Regions from separate parts of the Homo sapiens genome. Here all the other regions are linked to region 2. The links are contacts of gene promoters, found by promoter capture Hi-C in human tissues and cell types (Jung and others, 2019). All regions are on one chromosome and are shown on one strand. Each heading gives the region's core, a stretch centred on a gene start or on the middle of the fragment in contact. The rest is flanking DNA. Distances are from core to core; before and after follow the strand shown. Region 1 overlaps NUP43 (nucleoporin 43). Region 2 holds the start of RAET1E (retinoic acid early transcript 1E). Region 3 overlaps PCMT1 (protein-L-isoaspartate (D-aspartate) O-methyltransferase).

The links. Contacts are between HindIII fragments. The study calls those that stand out against the background at their distance.
Region 1: a fragment that was not itself captured here is called in contact with the fragment with the promoter of RAET1E in region 2 in 1 of the 25 tissues and cell types used here (aorta).
Region 3: a contact is called between a fragment that was not itself captured here and the fragment with the promoter of RAET1E in region 2, in 1 of the 25 tissues and cell types used here (aorta).

What each region holds. Positions count from the first base shown.
Region 1 is chr6:149,736,697-149,739,451 of GRCh38, forward strand. NUP43 (nucleoporin 43) reads right to left here. Exons shown (of 8, transcript NM_198887.3): 5 at 1,947-2,082. Among named protein-coding and RNA genes, the nearest start is that of NUP43, 8.5 kb to the right of the region's middle. The HindIII fragment of the contact is 8,101 bases long and covers 1-2,755 here.
Region 2 is chr6:149,896,740-149,899,439 of GRCh38, forward strand. RAET1E (retinoic acid early transcript 1E) reads right to left here and starts at 1,374. Exons shown (of 6, transcript NM_001394057.1): 1 at 1,282-1,374. The region is part of intron 1 of RAET1E-AS1 (RAET1E antisense RNA 1); the gene reads left to right. RefSeq lists a silencer at 1,634-1,928. The HindIII fragment of the contact is 8,770 bases long and covers 1-2,700 here.
Region 3 is chr6:149,763,151-149,765,979 of GRCh38, forward strand. The region is part of intron 1 of PCMT1 (protein-L-isoaspartate (D-aspartate) O-methyltransferase); the gene reads left to right. Among named protein-coding and RNA genes, the nearest start is that of PCMT1, 15 kb to the left of the region's middle. The HindIII fragment of the contact is 5,916 bases long and covers 1-2,829 here.

The sequences.
Region 1 (2,755 bases), core at 13-2,512, 160 kb before region 2:
TTTTTGTTTGTTTTGAGACAAGGCCTCACTTACCCAGGCTGGAATGCAGCGCTGCAATCATTGCTTACTGTAGGCTCAAACTCCCTGGGCTCAGGTATCCTCCCACCTCAGCCTCCTGAGTTGCTGGGAGTACATGTGTGTACCATCATGCCTGGTTAACTTTTTGTATTTTTGTAGAGATGGGGTTTCTCCATGTTGCCCAGGTTGGTCTCAAACTCCCAGGCTCCAGTGATCTAGCCACCCTGGCCTTCCAAAGTGCTGGGATGACTGGTAACCGTGCCCAGCCTGTTTTTTTTTGTTTATTTTTTAAGAGACCAGGCTCAGTGGCTCACACCTGTAATCCCAGCACTTTGGGAGGCCAAGGCAGGTGGATGACTTGAGGTTCAAGACCAACCAGGCCAAAATGGCGAAACCCCATCTCTACTAAAAATACAAAAACTAGCCAGGCATGGTGGCACATGCCTGTAGTTCCAGCTACTTGGGAGGCTGAGGCATGAGAATCGCCTGAACCCAGTAGGCAGAAGTTGCAGTGAGCCAAGATCATGCCACTGCACTCCAGCCTGGGTGACAGAGTAAGACTCTGTCTCAAAGAAAAAAAAAAAAAAGAGAGACAGGGTCTTGTCTTGTCACCCAGGCTACAGTGCAATGGCCTATCTACAGCTTGCTGCAAGCTGGGCTCAAAAGAGCCTTTTGCCTCAGCCTCCCAAGTAGCTAGGACTACAGGCACATGCTACCGTGCCAGGCTATTTTAAGAAATTTTGGTAGAGATGGGGTCTCACTGTGTTGCCCTAGCTGGTCTCAAACTTCTCACCGCAGATAATCCTTCCAAAATGTTGGGATTACAGGCATGAGTCACCATGCTCAGCCAAGAAACATGTTTTATATGGTAACTAAGTGTCAACTTAGTGGCTGGAGCTACTGGCTGAATCTTTTTTTTATTTGAGACAGAGTTTTGTTCTTGTTGCCCAGGCTGGAGTGCAATGGCACGATCTTAGCTCACTGCAAACTCTGCCTCCCAGGTTCAAGTGATTCTCCTGCAAACTCTGCCTCCCAGGTTCAAGTGATTCTCCTGCAAACTCTGGCTCCCAGGTTCAAGTGATTCTCCTGCCTCAGCCTCCTGAGTAGCGGGGTCTATAGGCACGTGCCACCATGCCTGGCTAGTTTTTGTATTTTTAGTAGAGACGGGGTTTCACTGTGTTGGCCAGGCTGGTATTGAACTCCTGACCTCAAGTGATCTGCCTGCCTCGGCCTCCCAAAGTGCTGGGATTACAAGCATGAGCAACCACGCCCAGCCTGGCTGAATCTTAATGATACCAAAAAAAATGAACTAAATTAGATATATTTCTAAATAGTACAATTTTGAAATAATTCAAGGCCACAATTATTCATTTTCACTTCAATTTGGAGACATGGAATGAAAGACAATCCGATGGTAAGATGTACAAATCACATTTCCACTTGTTAAATTATTTAAAAACTCATACATCAATTATATACTAAATATTATTTATCATCTTATTTAATGCTTAGTTTATGTAACTATTTTTTCAGTGTGACACATTCTATTTTCTTACGAGAGAACGTTGTACACCTACAAAGGGGGATTTCTGCTCAGAAAAAATATTTGGAATTATATTTTTCCCCCAATCATTACATCTGGAGTATATTTTATCCATTAAACAATCATTGAAAGAGCAGAAATAAGTTCTCCATGAAATAATACAAACTTCAAAGAGTAAAGGCTCTGAATCACTATAACAAATAATTACTAAATGAAGCATAGTAGTACCAACCCCGTCAAGTTATGCTTGCTCTACCAAATTTTAATCAGGGATCTCCCTCTTAAAATGCAATTAAAATTCAATATGGCTTAAAGCCAGTAGCTATAAACAACCTAACACATTAATTTGTGGATTACATTACTGAAATTACAAATCAACACTTACAGTGACAATATCTGAGAAGGCTCATTTCCTTGTTGTCTGAAATCCCATATTTTCAACTGTCCAATTGAATTTACAGTAAGAATCTCAGGAGTTCGAAGAAAGGTTACAGCATGGAGTGTACTACTATCTGCATTGTCTAAAAATTTAAAAAATGGTAGTATGTGTTAATGAGTCCCCTTTTTTTCCCAAGAAAATCTTAAATCACACTCCTTTCATGGATTGATATATTACAATTTCCAGTAACTTATAATTTAAATTTCTATAGAAAAATGCATGGTTAATGTATATGTTTAAATGGATTCTCTTTGGATGGGAAAAACATTTACTCACAGGACATCTGAACTGTTTTCTGTTTCTTTTTTTTTTTTTTGCTCGTTGCCCAGGCTGGACTGCAATGGCGCGATCTCGGCTCACCGCAATCTCCACCTCTCGGATTCAAGCTATTCTCCTGCCTCAGCCTCCCAAATAGCTGGGATTAGAAATGTGCCACCACACCCAGCTAATTTTGTATGTTTAGTAGAGACTGGGTTTCTCCATGTTGGTCAGGCTGGTCTCGAACTCCCGACCTCAGGTGATCCACCAGCCTCGGCCTCCCAAAATGCTGGGATTACAGGCTTGAGCCACCACGCCTGGCCTACTGTTTTCTTTTTCTTTTTGTTTTTTGAGATGGATCTCGCTCTGTCACCCAGGCTAGAGGGCAGTGGCGTACTCTGGGCTCACTACAACCTCCGCCTCCCAGGTTCAAGCGATTCTCTTGCCTCGGCCTCTCTAGTACCTGGGATTACAGGTACATGCCACCATGCCTGGCT
Region 2 (2,700 bases), core at 124-2,623:
TTTCTACAAGTCTGATGACTCACAGGAAGGAGCACACCAGGCCTATACTTGGGTCCTGACATCTGGGATGCCAACCTAACACTGAAGAAAAAGAAAGAGCTGCAGACAGGCTGGGAAAAATATACAGAAAGGGGAAAGGGGCCCTTCCACCTTTGTTGCCCTCTGTGGTCCTGAATCTCAGCTTGGCCTGAGCCAACCTGAAGATGGGAAGGAATAGCCATTTTCCAACTGCAAAATGTCAGCTTCAGGCAATGGTTTCAAAACTGAAGTAATGGTTACATATGAAGTAGATTTTTGTTTGTTTTGTTTTTTGAGACCAGGTCTTGCTCTGTCATCCAGGTGGAGTGCAGTGGCATGAGCACGGCTCACTGCAGCCTTGAACTCCCAGGCTCAATCAGTCCTTCCACTTCAGCCTCCAGAATAGCTGGCACTACAGGCATGAGCCACCACACCCAGCTAATTTTTAAATTTTTGGTGTGGAGATGGGGTCTCATCACGTTGCCCAGGCTGATCTCGAACTCCTGGGCTCAAACAATCCTCCCCCCTCAGCCTCCCAAAGTGTTGGGATTACAGGAGTGAGCCACCACACCCGGCTGAAATGGAATTTTAATTGAAGTAAGAAGCGGGTGATAAGGAAAGTGAAACCAATAATTTCACATAGTCCCTGGAAGCCCGTTGCTATAAAGAACTTTCAGCCTGAAGTCCAAAGAGAGACGAAAATTTTAAAATGAATTGGACTGCAGTTTTCAATCCCTGAAAATGAGTCACAGCCTTTTTGTGGCAGTGTGCCCTGGGCTTCTAACCGTCCTCTCCCTGCCCCAGCTGCCTTGAGGTCCCGGCCAATGGTTTCAACACTCAGGCTAGGAATGCCAAGGCCCGGCAGAGCGAGGCTGTGGAAGCCTTGGCATAAGCGGAAGGGAGGATCTGAGGGAGAATGGGACAAGAGAAGTCGGAAAGAAGGAGTTAGGGCAGGAGAACAAGGAGAAATCCCTGTCCCCCAAATTGGAGAGAGGGGCGATTGGGACTCCAGACTGGAAGGAGGCACGGATCCCTGAGTGCTTGGTGTGGAGGCAGAGGACCCGCAGAGCCACCCCGTCCTCCCTGCCTTATCCAGCGTCCCCGCCGCCACACCCCCAGCATCTCCCCCAACCCCACTTTTACTTCATTATCTGCCCCTGGTTCTCTCACCACTCGAGCCCCTGCTTTCCTCCTTCACTCCCAAACATGCACACGTTCCCTCTGCACGGGTGTTTGGAACACCAGCCATCCCCCACCCCCTACCTTGTGCCAGCAGGAGATGTTTGTCCTTCTGCCGTCTCTAGGATGGAGAGGCCTGAGGTGACTGCTTCCTCAGAGTCTCTGTGCAAACTCTCTGAGGAGCAGAAACCAGTTCAGTCTCTCTGGGTGTGGAGAGGCCGGCCTAGCAGAACACCCGTCCACCATGCAAACCGGGTGGGGCCACCTGTCAACTGTCACGTGTGAGTGATTCTAGGACAGGGTAACTCGTCCAGAATTGGATCCAATTCAGTACTGGATTCACCATCAGTAGAAGGACCAAGACCAGACTCAAGTCCCAGCCACGAAATTCTAGAAAGGATTTAATGTAATTTTAGCAGTTGTTGGAGACCAGCATGTGATGGCATACATATGTTTTCCTTGATATGTAGGTGGGGGCCCCCACCTTTTTTCAGGGTTTAGGCTTCTGCAGGTCCTGGCATAGCTGTGACAGCGGCCCTACCTCATTTCTGGTGGGTGCTGGCTCCCTCTATTGCTTGGTTTCTGTGCAAACACTGCATTATCGTCCTGCCCTCTTGAGACCTGGAGCTCCTGCCCCCTGAGCTCGTGTTCGCACTGTGTGTCACTGAACCTCGCTGTTTTCTTCTTGCAACTCCATTCCCCTCTGCAACTGGAAGACCAGCACTTCTCCTGAGTCTTCCTTAAAAGACACCCTGCCCACTTCCTTACAAAGCCCCCACCAAAGTGACACCAGCTACTTGTGAATGTAGCCAACTTTACTGAAGATTTAGAGGTTATGTTATAAGGCTGTGAATAATTTAAAAAAAAAATCACCTATTTGCTCGACCTCTTTCTTATCTCTTCTTTGGACTAGAAATAAAATATCTATGATTTGACCACACTGTCATCTAGTACTCGACCCTGGTTCTAGGCCACCGTCCTCCTGGCCAGGGTGATTGCAGTGCTGCCCTACTTGGTTCTCCGTGCCTGTCCCCACCTCCCAAATGGCTACAGCGCAGCCAGAGTGATCTTCAGAACCTCATCACTCACGCCCCCCTCTGCTCCAATTCTCCAAAAGTGCCCTTTTTCTCTCAGTAAAACCAAAGTCACTACAGATGCCTAGAGAGCCCTGCACAGTCTGGCCAGCTGTCCATTATGCCCCCTCACTCGCTCAGTTCCGACCTCCACCCTCGGCCTCCTTGCTGGTCTTCAGAGCCCTGCAGATGTCCCCGTGCCTTGGGACTTTGCATTGCCCTCCCTTCAGCATGGACTGCCCTTCAGGCATCTGCCCGGCTCACTCCCACTCCTGCTCCCAGGTGGCACACCCTTCCACGCCTGGTTCTCCCTGCCCCTCGCATTTGGAACCCTTGTATTTCTTTCTTTCTTTCTTTTTTTAAAATTGTGGTATGATTCATGTAACGTGATTTTTCATCTTAACCACTGTTAAATGTAAAGGCCTCTATT
Region 3 (2,829 bases), core at 13-2,512, 130 kb before region 2:
GATATATATCTATGATATCTATGATATATATCTATGATATCTATGATATATATATCTATGATATCTATGATATAAATATCTATGATATCTATGATATATATATCTATGATATCTATGATATAAATATCTATGATATCTATGATATATATATCTATGATATATATATCATAGATTACCAATGACAGAAAAATTATTTAATAGCTTAGTAAATATATAATAGTTTGGTTTAAGCATCTTTTAGAACATGGGATCCTGGGCAAAAATAAATAATAAGAAACTTGTGAAAATTTTGGAAACCACCCAGTAATGCCTAAAAAAGCTTTATTCTGAGACATGATGGGTTCAGCTTTTTAATAAATGGCTGATGGCATGCTATTAATAACAATTTAGAGTTTTTAGTAACTTCCATATGCCTTCATATCTGTAGAGCCAAAGAAGCTCACATAAATTTGATAGAAGTATATTATCGAGCTTGAAGGAAGTGATTTCTTTAATTTACTTTGATTTTTAGAATGTGCCTCAAGTAAAATCTTTAAGATGTCACACTTTAAGTATCCATCTAGAGAAGAATGAATACAGTGAATATGATGATGGTTTCAAAAATTGATGAATAATTGGCAGTGTTGAGTGAAGCTGCCTAACCTGAAAAAAATAAAGCTGGAGGTAGTCCTGATTTATCTTTATGTAAAAAATGGTTGACTAGATAGAAATTCAATATATTCTTTGTGGCTTCAGAGAATAACACTAAGAGTGTCATGTGAGTGAATTATGAAAAGGGAGATTCATCTTAATACAGGGAAATTGTCTAATAATCAGAGTGGTCTGAATGAGCTAGTAAGAACCACAATAATGGAACTCTTTTAGAAGAGAATATGGTACCAATTTATGAAGTTAGACTCAATGGCTCCTAAAGCCTCTTGTGACTTTGAGAGTCTATGAATCACCCTCTGGGATTTGAATTAATTTCAGGGGAAATGAACCACTCAAGAATTATTTTGGGAAATGAATTAGTAGAACTCACTAAGCTATTTGAATATGTTAGTAGCAGTATAGTGAAGTGATCATAGAAATCTAACATCTTAATTTGAATAACCCTACCCCTTATTTGCTCTGTTATCTTGGACTACTTAACTAGTCTTTCTAACCTCAATGTTATGATCTGTCAAATGAAATAATAATAGTGCCTACTTTATAGGCTTATTTGAGACAACATAAGATTCTGTTTATTAGTACTGTATCTTTCACATGGTAAACATTAAGCGAATATCACTGCTATTATTACTCTGCTTTTAAAACTTTAAAAAAAAATGCTTTCAGGCTAGGGACAGGGGCTCACACCTGTAATCTCAGCTGAGGTGGGAGGATCACTTGAGGCCAGAAATTTGAGACCAGCCTGGGCAACATGGCAAGACCCACTCTCTAAAAAAAAACTTTTAAAAATTAGCCGAGTGTGGTGGCATGCACATGTAGGCCTAGGTGTTGGGGTGGCTAAGGCAGGAAGAGCACTGGAACTCAGGAGTCTGAGGTTATAATAAACTATGATGGTGCCACTGCACTCCAGCCTGGGCAACAAAGCCAGACCATATCTCTTTAAAAATTAAAAAATGGGGCCAGGCGCGGTGGCTGAACGCCTTTAATCCCAGCACTTTGGGAGGCCGAGGCGGGTAGATCACGAGATCAGAAGATCGAGACCATCCTGGCTAACACAGTGAAACCCCGTCTCTACTAAAAATACAAAAAATTAGCCAGTCGTGGTGGCGGGTGCCTGTAGTCCCAGCTACTCTGGAGGCTGAGGCAGGAAAACGGCGTGAACCCGGGAGGCGGAGCTTGCAGTGAGCCGAGATCGCGCCACTGCACTCCAGCCTGGCGAGAGTGAGATTCCGTCTCTAAATAAATAAATAAATAAATATAAAAAATAAAATAATGCGGCCAGGTGCGGTGGCTCACGCCTGTAATCCTAGCACTTTGGGAGGCCGAGGCGGGCGGATCCACGAGGTCAGGAGATCGAGACCATCCTGGCTAACACGGTGAAACCCCGTCTCTACTAAAAATACAGAAAATTAGCCGGGTGTGGTGGCGGGTGCCTGTAGTCCCAGCTACTCGGGAGGCTGAGGCAGGAGAATGGCGTGAACCCGGGAGGTGGAGCTTGCAGTGAGCCAAGATCGTGCCACTGCACTCCAGCCTGGGAGACAGAGCGAGACTCTGTCTCAAAAAAAAAAAAAAAAAAAATTAAAAAATGCTTTCAGTGTTTTATTCTAATTACCTTTTTGGGTAGCTTGCCTATGCTTCTTCGGGTAGAAATAATATTTTCTATTTGGGTAATTTATCCAAAATTTATATTTTAAAATGGAAAGACCATATAAGTTTGTCTTTGCTAGTTTATTACTATTTACATTGTTTTCTCTATTTGATGTGCCTTTTTTGCTAATTTTAAAAAATATTCATTGTTACTTGGAAAGTTTGTATTTATACCCTTTATAGTGTCGTTAATTGACCTTATTTTTTTATTTTTTATTTTTTATTTTTTATTTTTTTGCTAGGCATGATGGCTCATACCTGTAATACCAGCACTTTGGGAGGACGAGGAAGGTGGATCACCTAAGGTCAGGAGTTTGAGACCAGCCTGACCAACATGGTGAAACTCTGCCTGTACTAAAAATACAATATTAGCTGGGTGTGGCGGTGGGCATCTGTAATCCCAGCTACTTAGGAGGCTGAGGCAGGAGAATTGCTTGAACCCGGGAGGTGGAGGTTGCCGTGAGTGGAGATCGCGCCACTGAACTCCAGCCTGGGCAACAAGAGTGAAACTCTGTCTCAAAAAAAAAATAA